5 separate regions of the Homo sapiens genome follow, and regions 2, 3, 4 and 5 are each linked to region 1. Evidence: promoter capture Hi-C in human tissues and cell types (Jung and others, 2019). All regions are on one chromosome and are shown on one strand. Each heading gives the region's core, a stretch centred on a gene start or on the middle of the fragment in contact. The rest is flanking DNA. Distances are from core to core; before and after follow the strand shown. Region 1 holds the start of SLC23A2 (solute carrier family 23 member 2). Region 2 has its middle 27 kb from the start of PRNT. Region 3 has its middle 78 kb from the start of CDS2. Region 4 overlaps CDS2 (CDP-diacylglycerol synthase 2). Region 5 overlaps SLC23A2 (solute carrier family 23 member 2).

The links. The method cuts DNA at HindIII sites, captures the fragments that hold promoters and counts their contacts. A contact is called where the count stands out against the background at its distance.
Region 2: a contact is called between a fragment that was not itself captured here and the fragment with the promoter of SLC23A2 in region 1, in 1 of the 25 tissues and cell types used here (IMR-90 fibroblasts).
Region 3: a fragment that was not itself captured here is called in contact with the fragment with the promoter of SLC23A2 in region 1 in 1 of the 25 tissues and cell types used here (lymphoblastoid cells).
Region 4: a fragment that was not itself captured here is called in contact with the fragment with the promoter of SLC23A2 in region 1 in 1 of the 25 tissues and cell types used here (thymus).
Region 5: a fragment that was not itself captured here is called in contact with the fragment with the promoter of SLC23A2 in region 1 in 4 of the 25 tissues and cell types used here (bladder, heart right ventricle, pancreas and 1 more).

Annotation. Positions count from the first base shown.
Region 1 is chr20:4,999,351-5,003,123 of GRCh38, forward strand. SLC23A2 (solute carrier family 23 member 2) reads right to left here and starts at 2,160. Exons shown (of 17, transcript NM_005116.6): 1 at 2,056-2,160. RefSeq lists silencers at 1,676-1,835, 2,026-2,265, a promoter at 2,049-2,247 and enhancers at 2,556-2,705, 3,490-3,773. The HindIII fragment of the contact is 14,848 bases long and covers 1,474-3,773 here.
Region 2 is chr20:4,766,254-4,770,026 of GRCh38, forward strand. No RefSeq gene overlaps it. Among named protein-coding and RNA genes, the nearest start is that of PRNT, 27 kb to the left of the region's middle. The HindIII fragment of the contact is 6,418 bases long and covers 1-3,773 here.
Region 3 is chr20:5,202,728-5,206,500 of GRCh38, forward strand. No RefSeq gene overlaps it. Among named protein-coding and RNA genes, the nearest start is that of CDS2, 78 kb to the left of the region's middle. The HindIII fragment of the contact is 3,450 bases long and covers 18-3,467 here.
Region 4 is chr20:5,181,444-5,185,216 of GRCh38, forward strand. It overlaps CDS2 (CDP-diacylglycerol synthase 2), which reads left to right. Exons shown (of 13, transcript NM_003818.4): 6 at 944-1,002; 7 at 1,618-1,700; 8 at 3,415-3,502. Among named protein-coding and RNA genes, the nearest start is that of CDS2, 56 kb to the left of the region's middle. The HindIII fragment of the contact is 3,477 bases long and covers 421-3,773 here.
Region 5 is chr20:4,865,687-4,869,459 of GRCh38, forward strand. SLC23A2 (solute carrier family 23 member 2) reads right to left here. Exons shown (of 17, transcript NM_005116.6): 13 at 2,084-2,189. Among named protein-coding and RNA genes, the nearest start is that of RASSF2, 44 kb to the left of the region's middle. The HindIII fragment of the contact is 5,571 bases long and covers 1-3,773 here.

The DNA.
Region 1 (3,773 bases), core at 910-3,409:
TGGGCAGACACAGATGGACAGACTACTCAGTGGGTGGCTACATGTGCTTGCCTGCCCCGGGACACATGACTCACTTCTGCAATGCTACATAGACTAGAGTTTGCTCCATCAATGAGATAGATAGTATGGCATGAAACCTAGCAAAACCATCTACATTTTTCTAGCCAGGTACTGGTTTTTTTTAAGCTGGCCGCCATACTCAGCTATTTTTTTTTTTTTTTTATAGAAACAGGAGTCTTGCTGGGTTGCCTAGGCTGGTCTTGAACTCTTGGCCTCAAACAATCCTCCCACCTCAGCCTCCCAAAGTGCTGGGATTACAGGTGTGAACCACAACACCCGGCCCAGGTACTTCAATAGGCATTTTTTAAACATGTCAACAGATGTTTAAACTTAATTGACTTAATTGACCGTGCCACAGTCAGAGAATACAACTGCCAGACAACCATCTAAAATACTGTCAACATAAAAAGTTCCTGAAATACCTATTGTCTTAAAAAATCACCCTCCACTCTAAGCAAAGAAACCAAAAGAGAAATGCCTTGGTATTAAAAGAAAGAAGCTGGTTGCCATTTTGGCAAAGGAAATAGCCTAGAAAGCAGATACCTCATGCTCAGGATGTCACATGGAACAGGCTGGACACACCTGCTGCCTCCCTTTAACTAGCAGGTGTGCCATGAGAGCTTACACTGGGCACACCCACTGGTGCCCAAAAGCCATTAAATTGGGGATGAATGAAAAGAGAACAGTAGTAATACGTTCATAAGTGACCCTGATAGAGCCAACCATAACCCAGCACAGAATTCTGATTTTTTGAGCTGAAAAGGGCCCTTTATACATCTCACCAGGTTCAAACACCTTCAGGGGAGGCAGGCAACGTCACCTGCAACGGTGAAAAAGGCAGGTGTAGACAACCAGAAACGGTGAGGCCCAAACCCAACAGCATTCAAATACAAAAGCATAAAATAAAAATGCTCCAGCCACCCCAATTCCAGCCTTTTGCTTCAGAGAGGACGAAGCCGGCTGAGGGAGGTCACATGGCCAATTAGTGACAGCTCAAACCAGACTGCCTCCGGACTCCCAGTCCCATGTCCTCGCACATCCCGGGGCCTTCTCTGCGCGCAGATGACCCAATTGTCAGCAGGGACTGCATCTTCCCCCGCCCGTCTCCCAGCACTGCAAGAATAGAAGTAGCACCTACTACAAACGCTGCAGACCCAGAAAGCCCTTATGGGTGACTTTCTTCCACCTGCAGTTGCCCTCATTTACCCTTTGCCCTGACAATCGATAATTTCCCATCAGTCACGCTTAAACCCCCAGCCTGCAGGCCGACATCCTATCAGCCACCCATCCAAGGGGGGGCATCTAGGACCAAACGAAGGAGAAAATCCTGCGCCTTAAAGTAGTCACACTCGAAATGTCATTTTTTCCCCCCGAAAGGTGGCAAGGAGGGGGACTCGCGACCCCCCAGGGAACAGGCCAGAAAGGCCCCGGGGTCGGAGGAGCTGCTTCTAAAATTACTTCGCGCAGTCTTTGTAGAAGGGAAGAAAGCAAGAATGTAAAAGGCACCCTCTTGCCGCCCCTCCTGATGCCCCTGAATTCCAGGGGGCGAGACGATGCCCGTGCGCACCACCGGGGGAGGGGCGAGGGAAGCGACCCCAGGACGCGCGGGCGCAGAGCCCGGGAGGAGGCGGCGGCAGCCAGTGGGGTTCTGGGGGCGCCCCATTTGCCTCCCCGCTGCGCGGCCTGAGGGCCCGAGCGCGCTGTGGCTCCCGTGGCGGGAAGGGGTGGGTACCCCGGGGGCCCGGCCCGGCCGGCAGAACGGCAGGAGCTGAGGGCCGCCGGGCATCTTGGGCCCCGGGGCCAGGGTGGCCGGCGGGCGCGGGGTCCCGGGAGATGGGTCGGGGTGGGGGCGCGCAGGCCGCGCCGCGGGGCCGGTGGGTGACAGCGCGCGGGGGCCGTGCCAGGCCGGCCTCGTGGGCGCGGCGAGCACCTCGCGGCCCCGCCGGCAGGTGCGGCCCGCAGGCCGGGCAGGGGGCGCGGCGGCCGGGCTCTCACCTGGCTGCAGCTCGCGTGGTTCCCGTCCTGCCGCCGCGCCTCGGCGCCGCAGTGCCCGCTGCAGCCTCCGCCTCCGGTCCCCGCGACAGCCGCCTGCAAAATGGCGCCGCGGAGGGGCGGGCCGGGGGCGGGGTGCAGCGGAGCCGCCCGCCCCCGCGCCGGTCTGGGGCCCACCTCCCTCCCCGCCCCCGACCCCTGCCCTCGGGCCTCCCCCCGGGGAGGGGCTGCTCCCTGGCACCCGGCAGCGCTCCCCGGAACATCCCGGGCCTCGCACCCAGCCGTCCCCTTCCCGTTCCTTTCATTTCCCTCCCCTGCGCAGAAAGATCGCCCCCCTTCGCGACCCTTCCCACCAGTCACACCTGTTCCTGGGGACCCACCTGGCAAGCAGAGCGCTGGTCCCTGAGTGTCCTGGTCCAGGTCCCCCCTTTTTACCCCGCCTGCCACCGAGCCCTGTCATTGCTCGAGCGTGATAAGCAAGCAGTTTGTGGTGCATTGGGCTCAGTGGGTTGGATGTTTTAAAACAATTTCACCGCTTCTCCACTTAGGTAGCCAGTTTTTTTAACCTAACTGGAGAAGAAGTCCTTCTTACCTCATGCAGAGATCGTAATACAGACCAAGGCTTTTCAGACGTGAATTCTCTGGGGGTCGTGTTAGGCTAGGGGCGGGTTCACATTCAGTGGCTCTGGGGTGCAGCCCAAAAGTCTGCACTTCTAAATTGTCCCCAGGTGATGCCCCCGGGTGAGGTTCTTGGACCGCTAAGCAGAAAGGCCAAGTGTAAATCCCTGGCCCTCGGTCTTAGAGCTGGGCAGCCTCACTTTGAGGACTTCATTAAGATGCAGATGGCTGGGCCCCACCCCCAGAGTTGCTAAGGCTGGAGGTCTGGCGTGAGGCTCCAGAATCTGCATTTCTGCCAAGTTCCCAGGTGATGCTGATGCTACTGGTCTGGGGACCACACGTATTGAGCCACTGCTGAAATCTGAATACAATTTTTTAAATGTTCTAATAATTAGTACTTTCTTAACACCTTCCATCTTGAAACCGTTGTCATGGTTGCTTTACTAACTGAATGATAATGTACTAGTTCCCGGGCAACTCTTGAGAAACAGAATTGTAGACGGTGTCTGTCTGACCTCACATGGAGAGAAATTGATTTTATAATCAGAATTATTTATGTGTTTTACACAGTTTTGGAAAGTGACATCACACATATTAATGCAGTTGGGGGAGCAGCAACTAAAGGAATTTTATGAAATAGGCAAGTGTGGTCTGTGTCTTGACAATAATGTGTCTTCCCATTTATTTATCTAATAACTGCATTTTTATTTGCTTATATTTAATTTTTTAGAGACAAGGTCTCACTCTGTCACCCAGGCTGGAGTGCAACGGCACAATTAAGGCTGCAGCATCAACCTTCCAGGCTCAAGGGATCCCCCAACCTTGGCCTCCTAAGTAGCTGGGATGACAGGACCACACCACCAGGTCCAGCTAAGCTTGGTTTTATGCGTCACGGGCGCCCATCCTTAACCTTGACAAAATGAACCTTCTAATTTGACTGAGACCTGTCTCAGATATTTGAAGTTCACAATCCCTACTGGGATTCAGTAAGTAGGGAAAAGAAAGTGTTGGATTGCAAAATTCAATAATGTCGAATGTTTTGATCCCCGTTGAAGATGGAGAAAATAAAAAACAAAGATGCGGCCGGGCGCGGTGGCTCAAGC
Region 2 (3,773 bases), core at 362-2,861, 230 kb before region 1:
TTGGCTCACTGCAACCTCTGCCTCCTGGGTTCAAGCGATTCCCCTGCCTCAGCCTCCTGAGTAGCTGGGACTACAGGCATGTGCCACCGTGCCTGGCTAATTTTTGTATTTTTAGTAAAGACGGGGTTTTGCTGTGTTGGCCAGGCTGGTCGCAAACTCCTAACCTCAAGGGATCCGCCTGCCTCAGCCTCCCAAACTGCTGGGATTACAGGCATGAGCCACCGCGCCTGGCCTAAAGTCTTAATAATCTCAAACTATAGAGCAAAAGGATATAGGCATGGCCTGGGGGACCAGTTTAACTTTAGTTAGACTGAGTTAACTAGAGTAGAGATAACCAAGTGGTGGCCTACAAGCCAATACAAGTGACAATCTTTTCCTGTCTACCACAGTTTTTAAAAACCAGAGATTCTGATAATAATCTGGGTTTCTGGGTTTCTGGATTTTCTTGAAAAATCAGGAATTCCTGAATCCCATGGAACTTTCACTTCTACAGGGCAGCATTGCCTGAGAAGTCAGAATTTGCAATCCTGCTAGTAGCAGAAAGTCAGTCCAAAAGAGGAAGGTGTGGTTTGCAGGAAAGAGGAAATAAAGATGGAGAGAGTGTGTGTGTGTGCTACATGAACCCCAGGAGATGACGAAGACAGACCCCTGCTGACAACCAGCACCAGGCTGAGAGTCACCCCGGAGACAGGTCCTCAAGGAGATACAATGGATAGAATGCTGGGGGAGACTGAACATATGAAAGGTTTAGAGAATTTGGGACAAATATGGGCTGAATTCATGAAAAATACATTGAAAACCTAAGCAAACAGAAGGACAATTTTTAACTTCAAGGAAAACAAAAAGTTGTGCTAAAAATGGAAAAATAAGCCAAATACAGTATACATTCAGCTTTAGAGAGCATGTTTATACAATTATACAACATAAAGGCAGATGTGCGCTAACCAAAAATTATGATTGGCAGGACGGAGACCCAAGAATTGGGGAGGGAGGTAGAGAAAGATAAGGCCCCAGATGAGCAAATCAGGAAGAGAAACACCAACATGCTACTTACAGATAAGATGGCAAGTACCAAAGAATCAGCTAGAAGAATTGAAGGCCGTGGGAAGGAAGGGGAGGTAGAGCATGGTAGGAGCAAAAGAGAGCTGGTTTTGTTTGACTTTCTTAACCATGTGCATGTCTATCATTGAAGAAAAGACAAACTGTGTTTTGAAAAAAGTTAATTGATCACAAGTAAAGCCGCCACCCCCAGCCCCCATCCTTGCCTCACGATAACCCTTAACAATTATATCCTTCCAACGGTTTATATATATATATATAAAGACCGTTGGGGTTTAGAGTCATTTAAAGCAAATCTGAAGTTTTAAGGGTCCTTAAGGAGGTATAAGGCTTAAGATCTGGCCGGGTGCAGTGGTTTACGCCTGTAATCCCAGCACTTTGGGAGGCCAAGGTGGGTGGATCACCTGAGGTCAGGAGTTCAAGACCAGCCTGGCCAACATGGTGAAACCCCATCTGTACTAAAAACACAAAAAATTAGCCAAGCATGGTGGCAGACAACTGTAATCCCAGCTACTCAGGAGGCTGAGGCAGGAGAATCATTTGAACCTGGGAGGCAGACATTGCAGTAAGCCGAGATCACAGCATTGTACTCCAGCCTGGGCAATAAGAGCGAAACTCCATCTTAAAAAAAAAAAAAAAAAAAAAAGGCTTAAGATCTCTTAGAGTCTATTGAGATCTATGTATCTATTAATATATGTAAGGATTTTATATATATACAAAGATCAACTTTTGTGTGTGTATGATACATAAATAGTATCATCATGTATGTATCTTTCACCAACTATTTTCACTTAACATTACGTCTTGGCATCTACTTTCAGCTAGTAGAATTGGTGGGGTGACAGGTCTGTAGGCTTTAATATCCTTCCTCTACAAATTCTGAATGAAGAAATTATTACACAGACCCATCTTTATTACCAGGACTTGAATCTCATTTATATAGTCCATTGAAACTAAAATGTTATCTTTCAATATGTCCCCCCAAAAAAGACAGTATTCTGGATCTTGAATTTTCTGGGAGATGCATTTTTGGAGCATCCTTCTTGAGGGGATAAAGCAGTTTAAGTCATTGTCCCTGAGCATAATTCATTTATAATATCCCACATGAATTCTTGTCCTTTAAGTAGCTACTCCTGGGACTTTGCCCCCCTCTTTTTCAACATGCTTAATGTCACACTGGCCTGAAGAGCAACTTTACTGCTGCAGGGGTAACTTATATTTCATCTCATAAAGCACCAAATCTGCATTATTTTTTACCTCAATTCCGGATGAATTTTGGTGATTAAAATGAGAAAAACATGGCTCGTGGTCCTCAAGTGGATTTTTGGATCCCGGTTCAAAAGTGGAATAAATCTATTTTAGAAATGTGAGTTCATATTACTTTATAATAACATCCTCAGGTGATGGGCATGCACGTGGGCCCAGGGTAGGGAGTGCCGTGGTGAAGAGTCTGATGATGTCCATCAGGAGTTTCAGAGTTAGCCTCACAGTTCAGTATCTTTTTTTTTTTTTTTGAGATGGAGTCTTGCTCTGTCGCCCAGGCTGGAGTGCAGTGGCACAATCTCAGCTCACTGCAAGCTCCGCCTCCCGGGTTCACGCCATTCTCCTGCCTCAGCCTCCCAAGTAGCTGGGACTACAGGCACCCACCACCATGCCCGGCTAATTTTTTGTATTTTTAGTAGAGACGGGGTTTCACTGTGTTAGTCAGGATGGTCTTGATCTCCTGACCTTGTGATCCGCCCACTTCAGCCTCCCAAAGTGCTAGGATTACAGGCATGAGCCACCGCGCCCAGCCACAGTTGAGTATCTTAATAATGTTTTATCATTATTTAGGGTTTAGGGTTTAAGATTGGAGTTATTAGAGTTTAGAGCCCTTGGGATCATAGTCAAAGTTACATTTGGGAACAAGAAAGTCTCAGCGTAGTCTCTGTCACTCTTCTTGTATCATTGGGATTATTAGGGTGAAGGTATCTGATCATTAAGAAGAGAGATGTAGGGTTCGGATTCTGGTCACGATGTATGTGGATCTGCTCCAACTTCTTCACAGAGTTTAGAGCTCAGGATCATTTGTTTGTGGTAATTAGGCCTTTAGGGTTGTCATTGTCAAGGGGTTCAGGGTCAAACATCCATTAATTTATCATCATTTGGAATTTGGGGTCTTCTGTTGCAACACCAACAGGATCCCTAAATCAAGGTTAAAGTCCAAGTATACAAACAGAGCTCTGGTCTTTGGGTAACAGATGAGTCATTGAGGTATGGAATAATGAGGGTCAGGACAGGTCACTGACGAGGTGTCTGCTCCATTGCCTGTTAGGGTTTAGGATTGTTGAGTCCTTAATGTCCAGGGCGTTGGAGTTAGCATTAATGTTGTTGAGGCTGAGAAGGTTGGGTTCATTAGACTTGGGTTCCTTTGCAACTATTTAAGGCCACTTTGGGTTTAGGATAATTTTGGATCAATTAGAATAGTTTAGAATAATTTGGGTATTTTAGGTGCAATTATGATTTCTTGGATCTTTTAGAGTCTTTTGGACTGTTGGGGTGTAGAGTCATTTCCAGCAAGTTTAAATTTTTAAGGGCCCTTAGGGAGGTATAAGGCTTAAGATCTCTTAGAGTCTATCGAGATACTTAGGGTCATTTAGAGTTGTTTGGGTTAGTTTAGGGTCATGTGAGATAATCTGGGGCTTAAGGTTTTAAGCATCATTTAAGAAACTTTA
Region 3 (3,773 bases), core at 493-2,992, 200 kb after region 1:
AGGAGGCAACAGCAGCGATCCAGAAGAGAGAGAGACAGACACACACACACACAGACACACACACACAGACACACACACACACACACACACACACACACGTGGCTCAGCAGGGGATATGGGAGTGGGGCGGTGGTGAGAAATGGTCAGATTGTCAGAATCTGCAGAAGGATTAGGTATGGAGGAGAGGGACGAAGAGGAGTCAAGGAGGGCTGTGAAGTTGGCTTGGGCGGCCGGAAGGATGGTGCTGCCATTTCTAAACTGTGGACGGCTGTGGGAGGACAGGTGCAGGTGGGAGGTGGATTAGAGAGGGTCAGTCAGGAGTTTGGGTTTGGACACGCTAGGTTTGAGATGCCTGTGAGATACCCACACAGGGATGTCCAGTCCTGGGGAGTAGTCCGAGATGGAAATAGAAATTTGAGAGTGATGAGGGTGTGCGCGTTATTCTACACCAGGAGCCGGAAGACTGGATAAAATCATCGACGGAGAGGAGCTAAGGTCTGGAGATGAGCCCCTCCGTCGTTTTGGACTTGAGGATCTACTTTTTAGCTAGGGCTACTCCCTTCCCTTCAATAAGACAATCCAGCCTTCAGGCCTGGGGAAAGGCCTGGGTAGAGTTGCCTTCAGGTGGCCCCACTCCCACCTCACAGCAGAAGCAGCTATTAATTTTCTCCTGGGGCCAGAATTCTAGAGGCCTGAGTGCTCTTCCCTTGAGAAGAAAGGGCAGCTTTACCTTTTGGTCTCCTGGGAAAGGAGAGGAAGGGAAACAAAGCAAGAGTAACTTCTCTATTTGATTATTTAGAGGCCAGGCAGTCGGGGTGGGAAGTCCCAGAGATGGACTCATGGCCTGGCCATGGCGTACTCACTTACACGCCATCCAATATTTACCAAAGGACACTGCCAGTTCCCAAATCAACCAAAACTTAGGGAGTTCTCAAATGAAATAAACACCATTGTGCCATTTCCGTTAATATCACTTCTCAATTTTAACAAACTTAAACACATTTTTAGGGTAAAAAGCACATCCATCAGACTGAGTCTAGGTTCAGGGTAAATTCTGATCTGGATTTGACCAAGGGAACTGAAGTTATTCCTGCAGCAAAGATTTGACCGATGGTGGATTTGACTGAGGCAACTGAAGTTATTCCTGCAGCTAAGATGGGCTCTCTGATCTTGCCCACATGGTCTCTATTTCTCGTAGATTCCAGGAGCCTTAGAGGTAGAGCCTTTGAAGCCATTGATTCTCAAACTTGGCTGCACATTAGAATTGCCTGAGGAACCTAAAAAACTACCAGTGCCCAGGCAGTATCTCAGACCAATGAGATAAGAGTCTCTGGGGGTGGGATGCAGGCATGAGTTTTAAAAAAAGCAGTTCCCTGGACTTACTCCAAAGTGTAGCTGAGGTTGAGAAACAGTGATTGAAACTTCCTCTAGTGAGTCCAGCCCCTCTCAGAAACCCATCATAACTGGTCAGCACCCTGTGCTGGAGCATCCCCAGGGTGAGCCTCAGGATGTCCCGAGGTGACCCTTCTGGGGTAGGTAATGTTGCTGTTCCATCCAGTGCTATTATTCTACATCACAAGCTATAGGGCAGAATGGTGTGTGCCTCCCAGTGCCTTTGCCCAGGACTCCTGTCTTCTGCCTTTTTTTTTTTTTTTTGAGACAGAGTCTTGCTCTGTTACCCAGGCTGGAGTGCAGTGGCTCAATCTCAGCTCACTGCAACCTCTGCCTCCCAGGTTCAAGCAATTCTCCTGCCTCAGCCTCCTGAGTAGTTGGGATTACAGGTGCCCGCCATCACACCCAGCTAATTTTTGTATTTTTTAGTAGAGATGAGGTTTCACCATGTTGGCCAGGCTGGTCTTGAACTCCTGACCTCAGGTGATCCGCCTGCCACGGCCTCCCATAGTGCTGGGATTACGGGCCTGACCCACCATGCCCGGCCTCCTTCTGTCTTCTTACACCTCATAGACTGAATCTGATTCCTCTTTTGCATAACACATGTCTACAATGATTCTTAAGTGCCTCCTGGCCTTCCCCTTGCTGCCCAGCCTTCTCTTCCCAAGTTTTCCATCTTGTTCTTTTCACTCTTCCTCACGAGAAATGCCTCCCACTCCCTTCACTATGCTGACCAGTTCTGGATACCCACAAGCTTATCCTTTTTGGGGGTCCCCAGTCACTGCCTGTAGTTGTGCACCAGTGCATGTGTTAGAGGGGGCATTCATGGGATCCTGTGGGCACTGACGATACCCGTAGCCACTGCCCAAGAGTGAGCTTCTTCCCCGCCAGAGCCTCACGGGCCCCTAAATTCCCTGTCGACCATGGTGTTCATCAGGAAGTGGGGCCAGGAGGGAGCCCTCTGGTAATCTGTCAGTTATTAGAGAACCTCCTGAATCTGGGGAGCTGGGGTTGGTGGCTTCCTGAAGTTGTAATTATTTAACTTTGTATTTTGAATAGTTTTAGACTTACAGAAAAGTTGTAAGAATAGTATAAAGAATTTCCTACATCCTTCACCCAAATTTTCCAAATGTTAACATTTTGGCACATTTGTTTATGTTCTCACTCCACACACACACTTTTTTTTCTTAATTATTTGTAAGTCGTAGACATGCCCCTTTACTGTTATATAACCTTATTCAGATTTCACCAGTTACCCCAATAGTGTCCATAATAGCAAAGAATATTAATAATATGTTTTTGACTGGTGCAATCTGAGGAGCTCTGCAGGAGCTTTGAGAACAAGAAATACTCTTCCTGGCCACCCCTTCCTTTCTGTGATAGAGACGCCTGGGGCTGCTGCTGTAGCATAGTGAGGCAGCATAGTGAGGCAGTGCTGTCACGGGCCCAGCAGAGGGCAGTAGTAGTTTAGGAGTGAGGCACAGGCAGGGCTTAGAAGTGAGACATCCTTATCCGCAGAGGATCCTAGCGCAGCATTCACTAGCTTTGTAATCTGGAACAAAACCCTTAACAACTCAGCTTCCCCCTCTATAAAATAAGGGTAATTGAGAAAATTTGCAAAGCACGTGTCTACTCCTAGCATCTAGTAATCATCCAACAGAAAGTTTTATTTGCACTATTTTAAACTTTTATTTGTAATGTTACCACCTTGGCTGAGAAGTGAATTTCTCAGGGATGCCGGGGAAGAAGCAGAGAAATGTTCCAGCAAAGGCAGAGGCAGGGCGGGACATTGAGGCTAGGGGCACAGAGAGGGAAGGGAGTTCTTGGGAATGAAGGGGAGGGGAATGAAGTGGTAGCCGTGGCTGACCTTGCATTGAACCCACCCAGGCCAGCTCGAACTGAAATTCACACTGGAATGCTGACTATTTCATGGCATTGTCCAGGTGCTAGAACCTCCTCCACAGCCATCCTTACCAAATCCATAAAGGAGGAATGGCTTGTCTTCTTTTCCATTTGGGCTGGGGAAGTGCCTGAGTTCGATTCCTGACTCCATCCCTTAGTGTCTGTGTGGCCTTGGGCAAGTTATTTAACCTTTCTGCGCTTCAGTCTCCTTGTCTGTAAAACAGGAGATAATACCATTTATACTATACGGGGATTATACTCACCCCCGGATCATTGTGAGGATTAAATACATTAATACTTTCAAAGAGCTTAGACTAGCTTCTGGCACACAGTGAGTTTTCATAAATATTACTGTTATTATTTCAGTGTCTCCTCCCACTGGCACCCTGTTTTCTTCCTGATCTGAGTGCTTGGCCTTATCCTTTTCCTTTTTTTTTTTTGAGACGGAGTTTCACTCTATCGCCCAGGCTGGAGTGCAG
Region 4 (3,773 bases), core at 909-3,408, 180 kb after region 1:
GAGTTTGGGGCGAGTCTGTGGAGGAAAGTGAAAGCAAGTCTATTAAGAAAGTAAAGGAATAAAAGAATTGCTACTCTGTAGGCACAACAGGCAGCAAACTTTTTATTAAAGTTCCAAACAGTAAATATTTTAGGCTTTGGGGACCATAGGGTCTCTTGCAGTTACAGTCATGCATCGTTTAACCATGGGCTATGTTCTCGGAAATGCATTGTTGTCATTTTGTCATTGTGCAAACATTGTAGAGTGTACTTATGCAGACCTAGATGGTATAGCCTCCTACACACCTAGGCTATAATGTGTAGTCTATTTCTCTTAGAGTACAAACCTGTACAGCATGTTACCTTACTAAATAAATACTGTAGGCAATTATAACACAATGGTAAGTATTTGTGTATCTAAACATAGAAAAGGTACTATATGGTAATTAGTAAATCTTATGGTATTATAATCTATGGGTATTATAACCTTAGGGAACTGTTGTTGTGTATGTGGTGTGTTGTTGACGAGAACCTCGTTGTTCAGAGCATGACTGTACTCAGTTCTGCTGAGTTGTAGCTTGAAAGCAGCCATAGACAATATGTAAACAAATGGACATAACTGTGTTTGAATAAAACTTTATTTATAAAAACAAGCAGCTGGCCTGACCACTGTTTGCTGGCCCATGTTCTAGGAATAAAACATTCCTATCTGATGAACCATGTTCTAAGTTTAGTGTGGTCTGCATGATTATAAAATATTGCCTTCCTTTTACTGTTTGGGAGGAGTTATTTTTTCCTTGTGACTGTTTATCTGGGTAATGTTTTTCTCCCCTGGGCTTTGACATTGTGCACTGGTTAGCTGCTGGGAATAAATTAGCCAAAGAACCACTTAACATAGCTAAAGGAGGGCAAAGATAAATGCAGAACATAATTCATTTTTCTTTTCTCCTCCCACCTCAAACTAGGATTCTGCATGTTTGTACTGAGTCTGGTCAAGAAGCATTATCGACTGCAGTTCTACATGGTAAAGGAAATGCATGCGTGTGTGTCAGAATTCTTGATTTAAATGAAGTTTTTCAGGAACTCAACAAGCCTTTCATGCTTTCTGTGACAAATCAAAACTCAGGAACATGGTCTGATATGTATGCATCTAGAGCATGAAGGAAGAATGCCCATTTAGGTTTAATGGCTCTACGTTGACTTAGACCCAGTCACTGTTACTTACACCTTAAGCAGCCTCTCCACTAGGACCCTGAGGTGGGCTCCAGAGAAGGCACAAGCTGAAGCTTCAGACACTGCCCACAGATGTCCTGTCTGGTACATCACTTGCTACCACTTATTCCCTGACTCACTAGAGAACAGCTCCTCTCTGAGTGCTCCAGGTGCTCAATAACTACTAAGAAAATGAAAAATACCCAGGCTTTCAGAGCATGGGAGAGCTCACTCACTAGTGGGCTGTGGGGGACAAAGTATTACTCTCAGAAGCCTGATCTTACCTGTTCACTTTCAATAAGTCAGATACAAAAGCAGATATTTTTCCTACCTGCTTCTCAGCAGTTTTCTATTTGGTATTGATTGTTCTTTGAAGTTACTTTCAAGGTAAACTGGTAAGTAGTGTTTATTTTTCTTTTTTTTGCAGTTTGGCTGGACCCATGTGACATTGCTGATTGTTGTAACACAGTCACATCTTGTTATCCACAACCTATTTGAAGGAATGATCTGGTGAGAATTGGGAGTTGGATTTTCCCTTTTATTTTGTGAGTGTTTCTCGTGTACAGATACCCCCCTCTAAGCCAGTGGCCCTCACCTTGAGCCACATCAGAATCCTCTGCAGGGTTCATTATAGCACAGATTGCTGGACCCCACCCCTGACTTTTTGATTCATTAGATCTGGGGTAGGCTTGAGAATTTGAATTTCTAGTACATTCCTGGGTGGTGCTTATATTGCTGGACAGGACCTATGCTCTGAGAACCACTGTTCTAGACTAATAGGTACAGGAATATTTAAAGACTCAAAGACAATGCAACATGTATGGCAACAGATTTGAAAACCTAGAGGAAATATTCATGATTTCCTGACAAAATATATACTAAAAGTCATGAAGAAGAAAACGTGAATAGATCAGTAACTGTAAATGAGCTTTGAAAATTATGTAAGATTCCATATCTGGAAAGAGAAACAGGACCAAATGGGTTAACAGCTGAGTTTTATCTAACCTTTATACCAAAGCCAATGAGGAGAGAGAAGCAGGAATGATAAACCCATTTCTGCTACGATTATAGATAAATCATTCTAAATAAAATACTAGCAAATAGAATCTGGCAGTGTGTCAAGGGAATAATATGCAAATACCGAGTGGATTTTATTCCAAAAATGCAGTGGTTTCATGTATCAGCATTGATAGAAATCACTGGCCAACTGAAGCAGCTAGGTGATCTTAGTGAAAAGGTTAAAGGGCGGGCGCGGTGGCTCACGCCTGTAACCCAACACTTTTGGAGGCCAAGGTAGGCGGATCACGAGGTCAGGAGTTGAAGACCGGCCTGGGCAACATAGTGAAATCCCCGTCTCTACTAAAAATACAAAAAAATAGCTGGTGTGGTGGCGTGGCAGGTGCCTGTAATCCTAGCTATTCCGGAGGCTGAGGCAGGAGAATCACTTAACCTGGGGGTGGAGGTTGCAGTGAGCCGAGATTGTGTCACTGCACTCCAGCCTGGGCAACAGAGACTCTGTCTCAAAAACAAAAACAGAAACAAACAAACAAACCTGTAATCAAAGAACTTTTTAAAAAGTGTCAGTGTCAGGGAGTGGAGGGTGAGGAGAGAGAGAACAAGTGTGGAAACCACCTCTTTCATAGTGAGGATGACTGGATCAGCAGGGGAGTGGGCAGAGGGGAAATCTAGCTGTGCGTGTTGGGGTTTCACACTCAAATACAGTCCTGGGGAAAGATAGGGCCAACTAGAGCTAGTAATAAACAGCAAGAAAAGTCAGTAAATAATGAAAGAGTCATTAAAGCATACTATTTAGAATTGGGGAGGTAACCACTAGAAAAATAAAAATTAGAAACGATTAGAAGTGGTTATTTTTGGGAATGGAGATAGGGATGGGAGAAAGAAGGAAAACTTTTTGTTCCTTTTACAATTAAATTTCTCTCATTGTTTACGTATATTTCTTTATCATGAAAAAAGGACAGATGACCTTTTAGTTTGCAACCTCCACTTATTCAGTAGTCATTCAGTAAACACTTGAATATGTACTCTGTGCTAGGTACTAGGTATGACTTTTTTGGTATTTTTTATGTTTTTAACTTACTCCTTAATGGGTTACCAGAATTTTATGGGTGATTTTGGTGCTGGAATTTAAGAATGGCACTATTTTGTGTACTTTTGAGGTACTGTCACCTTGCTTGAGTTGATCCTTACTTTGGTTCATTTCTAGGTTCATTGTCCCCATATCTTGTGTGATCTGTAATGACATCATGGCCTATATGTTTGGCTTTTTCTTTGGTCGGACCCCACTCATCAAGGTAAATGGATTACCCTAATGTGAAATACCACTGTGAGGGGAGGGTGGTGCTCTCAATGTGAGTAGATCAGCCTGGCAGACAGAAGAAATCTAGCTGTGTTGTATTGTGGCCATGTCTTCATGTCTTCCTGGAGAAAGGCCAAAGGAAAACACTGACAACTGATTAAAAAAAAAAAAAGATAATAAAGAAAATAGGCTGGGCGTGGTGGGTCATGCCTGTAATCCTAGCACTATGGGATGCTGAGGCAGGAGGATTGCTTGAGGCCAGGTGT
Region 5 (3,773 bases), core at 498-2,997, 130 kb before region 1:
AACCTTGAATTAGTTCCAGGACCGCCACTCTCCCCGCCTCAGATACCAACAACCACAGACGCTTAACTCCCTGATATAAAATGGTGTAGTATTTGCATGTAGCCTACACACATCCTCCAATATACTTTATTTTATTTATATATTTTTTTTTATTTTTTATTTTGGAGTCAGAGTCTCGCTCTGTCACCCAGGCTGGAGTGCAGTGGCATGATCTCAGCTCACTGCAACCTCTGCGTCCTGGGTTCAAGTGACTCTCCTGCCTCAGCTTCCCAAGTGGCTGGGACTATGGGCACCAGCCACCAAGCCTGGCTAATTTTTGTGTTTTTAGTGGAGACAGGGGTTCAACATGTTGGCCAGGCTGGTCTCGAACTCCTGACCTCAGGTGATCTGCCCACCTCGGCCTCCCAAACTGCTGGGATTACAGGTGTGAGCCACCGTACCCAGCCAATATCCTCCCATATACTTTAAATCATCTCGACATTACTTACAATCCTTAATACAATGTAATTGCTCTGTAAATCGTTGTCAGACTGCATTGTTCAGAGAATAATGACAACAAAAAGTTTGTACATGCTCACCCAGAACAGTACAGAAACAAACAATATTAGTTCAGAAACAATATTTTTGAATTGAAGTTGGTAGAACCCACAGATACAGAGGGCCGGCTATCTTATTTGAGATTTGGGATTAGTTATATGCCTGCAAGCTCATGGCAGCAAACTGGCTGAAGAGTGGCATGGCTTAGGCCCCATTCTGTGCCCATGAGATCCTTCCCTCATCTCCCTGTGCTCAGCACTGGCTTCTCACCATGGGTAGCAAAAGGACCTCCAGGATGGCGCTAGAGGAAGCGCCCCTCAGACAACCTTCCCTCACATCCCCCATACAGGGAGCAACAGGCAGATGGGGCCATTGGCACACCTCAGGCTGAGCTCTGGCAGGGCCCTGCCAACCTGGGGAAACCAACAAACAAACCAGGCATGTGTGTGCCTGCCTGGCAGCTCCCTCTCACCTGGATTTGCAATCAAGGTTAATCAAACTTAGTATCTGGTTTCTCTTTATCTGATTATAGAATCTTACATGGCAAAGGAGAGCTCTTTTGAAATCCACTCCTCCCTCCCAATTTGACAGAGGTCAACCAGTTCTAGAAGGTTTCCGGGCTCACCCCAAGTCCTCAGTGAGGGAGACCTGTGAGACGTAGGCCATCGAGGATGGTGAACCAATTTTCATGGTCTTAGTTTCACAACATACCATGGCCAATGGTGGGTCATCTCTTAATTTAAAACTAGTGACACCTCCCAGTTGGGATCCCATTTCTACCTTTTGCCCAGCCCCCCATGGTCTATTCTCATCACTGCAGTCAAAGCGATCCCTAAAAAAAAAAAAAAAAAAAAAAAAATCTGACCAAGCTGCTCCCTGCAGCACTCCCTTCCACTCAGGCAGTCTGTGGCTGCCTACCTACCTGCCTGCCTGTGTAACCTGCTCCCCAGTTACCCGGCAGACCCCACCTGCTCTGACTCCCTGACCCGCACTGGCCTCCTTGCTGACCTTCCACTTCCAGGATAGGGCTCGGCCCTGGCCACACCCTGGCCTGGAACGCTCTCCCCCAGGTTATTTGCAGGCTCCCTCCCTCCACCCTTCAGGTCTGTGTTCAGGTCACCTGATCACCCTCTCCCCAAGCTTCCTGTCCCATGTTTCCCCCAGTACTTGTCACTGGCTGACATAATGCATCATTTATGGACTTAGTATGCTGATTGTTGATTGCTAGAATGTAAACTCCACTTTTTAATTCACTGATGTATCCCAAGTGCCTTGAACAGTGGCCTGGCAGAGTCAGTGCTTTATAAATATCTATACTGCATGATGGAATGACAGCACTGAGTGCCTCCCTACCCGGACCAGCAAGAGAAGAGAGACTTCCAAACAGGCATTATAAACACTTAAAAAAAAAAAAAAAAAAAAAAAGGAGAGAAGTAATTTTTTAGAACCAGAGGCCCGCCCATTTGGAACTTGCAGTGGCCAGATCGATCAATGAAATGGACCAATGCTTAGAAACCCAATCATTTAATTAGAAAAATCTGTGTACCTTTGTAATTCCCAAAACTCCAATGTTGGGACTGGATGAAGTAGAGCCATTCCCAGTACCAAATATGCCATCAAGAACACAGGAGAGGCCTTCCACGAAAATTCCCCTAAGATGTAAAGGAATGGAGGAAAGAAAATCATTCAATGGGATAATGCATTCACTCTGAAATAGCCTCTACACATCTACAATCCAAAAATGTGGTCCAGAGCCTGCAGCTTCCACATCTCCTGGGAGCTGGGAGGGCGATTAAAAATACAATCTCAGACCCCACCCCAGACCTGCTGAAGCAGAAAAGAATCTGCATTTTTTTTTTTTTTTTTTTTTTTTTTAGAGAGTGTCTCACTCCGTCACCTAGGCTGGAATGCAGTGACGCGATCTTGGCTCACTGCAACCTCCACCTCCTGGGTTCAAGAGATTCTCCTGCCTCCCGAGTAGCTGGGATTACAGGTTTGCACCACCATGCCTGGCTAATTTTTGTATTTTTAGTAGAGACGGGGTTTCACCATGTGGCCAGGCTGGTGTGGAATTCCTGACCTCAGGGTGATCCGCCTGCCTCAGCCTCCCAAAATGTTGGGATTACAGGCGTGAGCCACTGTGCCCGGCCAGAATCTGCATTTTAACAGAACCCCCAAAGCTCATTCCATTTTGAGAAGCACATCTCTAAATCACACGTTAGATTTGAGTGTTTTTAAATCACCGCAAATGAAAGCAAAGGATTTTAGCCAGAAAATAAAGCCATTTGTTGGGGTATAAGACAAACATGGGCCGTCTATGGAAATAAAACATTGATGTGATCCTTTACTCTTAAAATCCAGTTTCATCAGGAAGGAAATGTTTTATAATTTCATAAGTACTGACACTTTTAAACATACTGATATACAGGTATTTAATCATGTGCAGCAGCTCCATTAGAGAAAGATGGGGACATCAGGTACCAGAGCCAAGGCCCAGTCCATTAATCTCATCACACACAGTCCCTTCTGGGGTTACAGAGCTGGCTGGAGAACAGGAGGGGATCTGGGCTGTTTTCTTTTCTCTGCAGACTCCTCAGGGGCAATCATCTGACAACTTCTAAAAGCTAATCATAAACCCCATAGTTCATAAGCCCTAGATCCCACAGATTTCATTCATTTCTGCTATTCCTGTCCCTATTTATATAAACTGTAACTGTGCATAGATTACACAGTGCTTACCCTTGGGGACAATTGGAACGTATCTAATTGACAGACCTGGGGCATACTGCCTGCTGCTAAGGTTTCCACTACAGGGGAGAGCAAACGGTATCCTTGTGCTTTCTGTCTGTCCGATTGTGGCAGCCAAGATTGGGTGGGGAAACAGGGAAAAAAACAGGTAATTTTTGCAATGTAGAAATAGCACTGTATAGCCAAGTATGGTGGTGCACACCTGCAGTCTCAGCTACTCAAGGTGCTGAGGTGGGAGGATTGCTTGAGCCCAGGAGTTCAAGAGTGTGGTGCATTACGATTGTGCCTCTGAATAGCCACTGCACTGTAGCCTGGGCAACACGGTGAGACCCTGGGTCTTTTTAAATTAAAAACAAACAAACAAAAAAAAAACAAAAAAAACCTGTAAGCAGTGAAGAGCTTGTTTTGCTGGGAAGAAAAATTTCAGTTTGTGTAAAAAAAAAAAAAAAAAGAACAGTTGGAAAGGCAAGATAACAGAAAATCAAAGT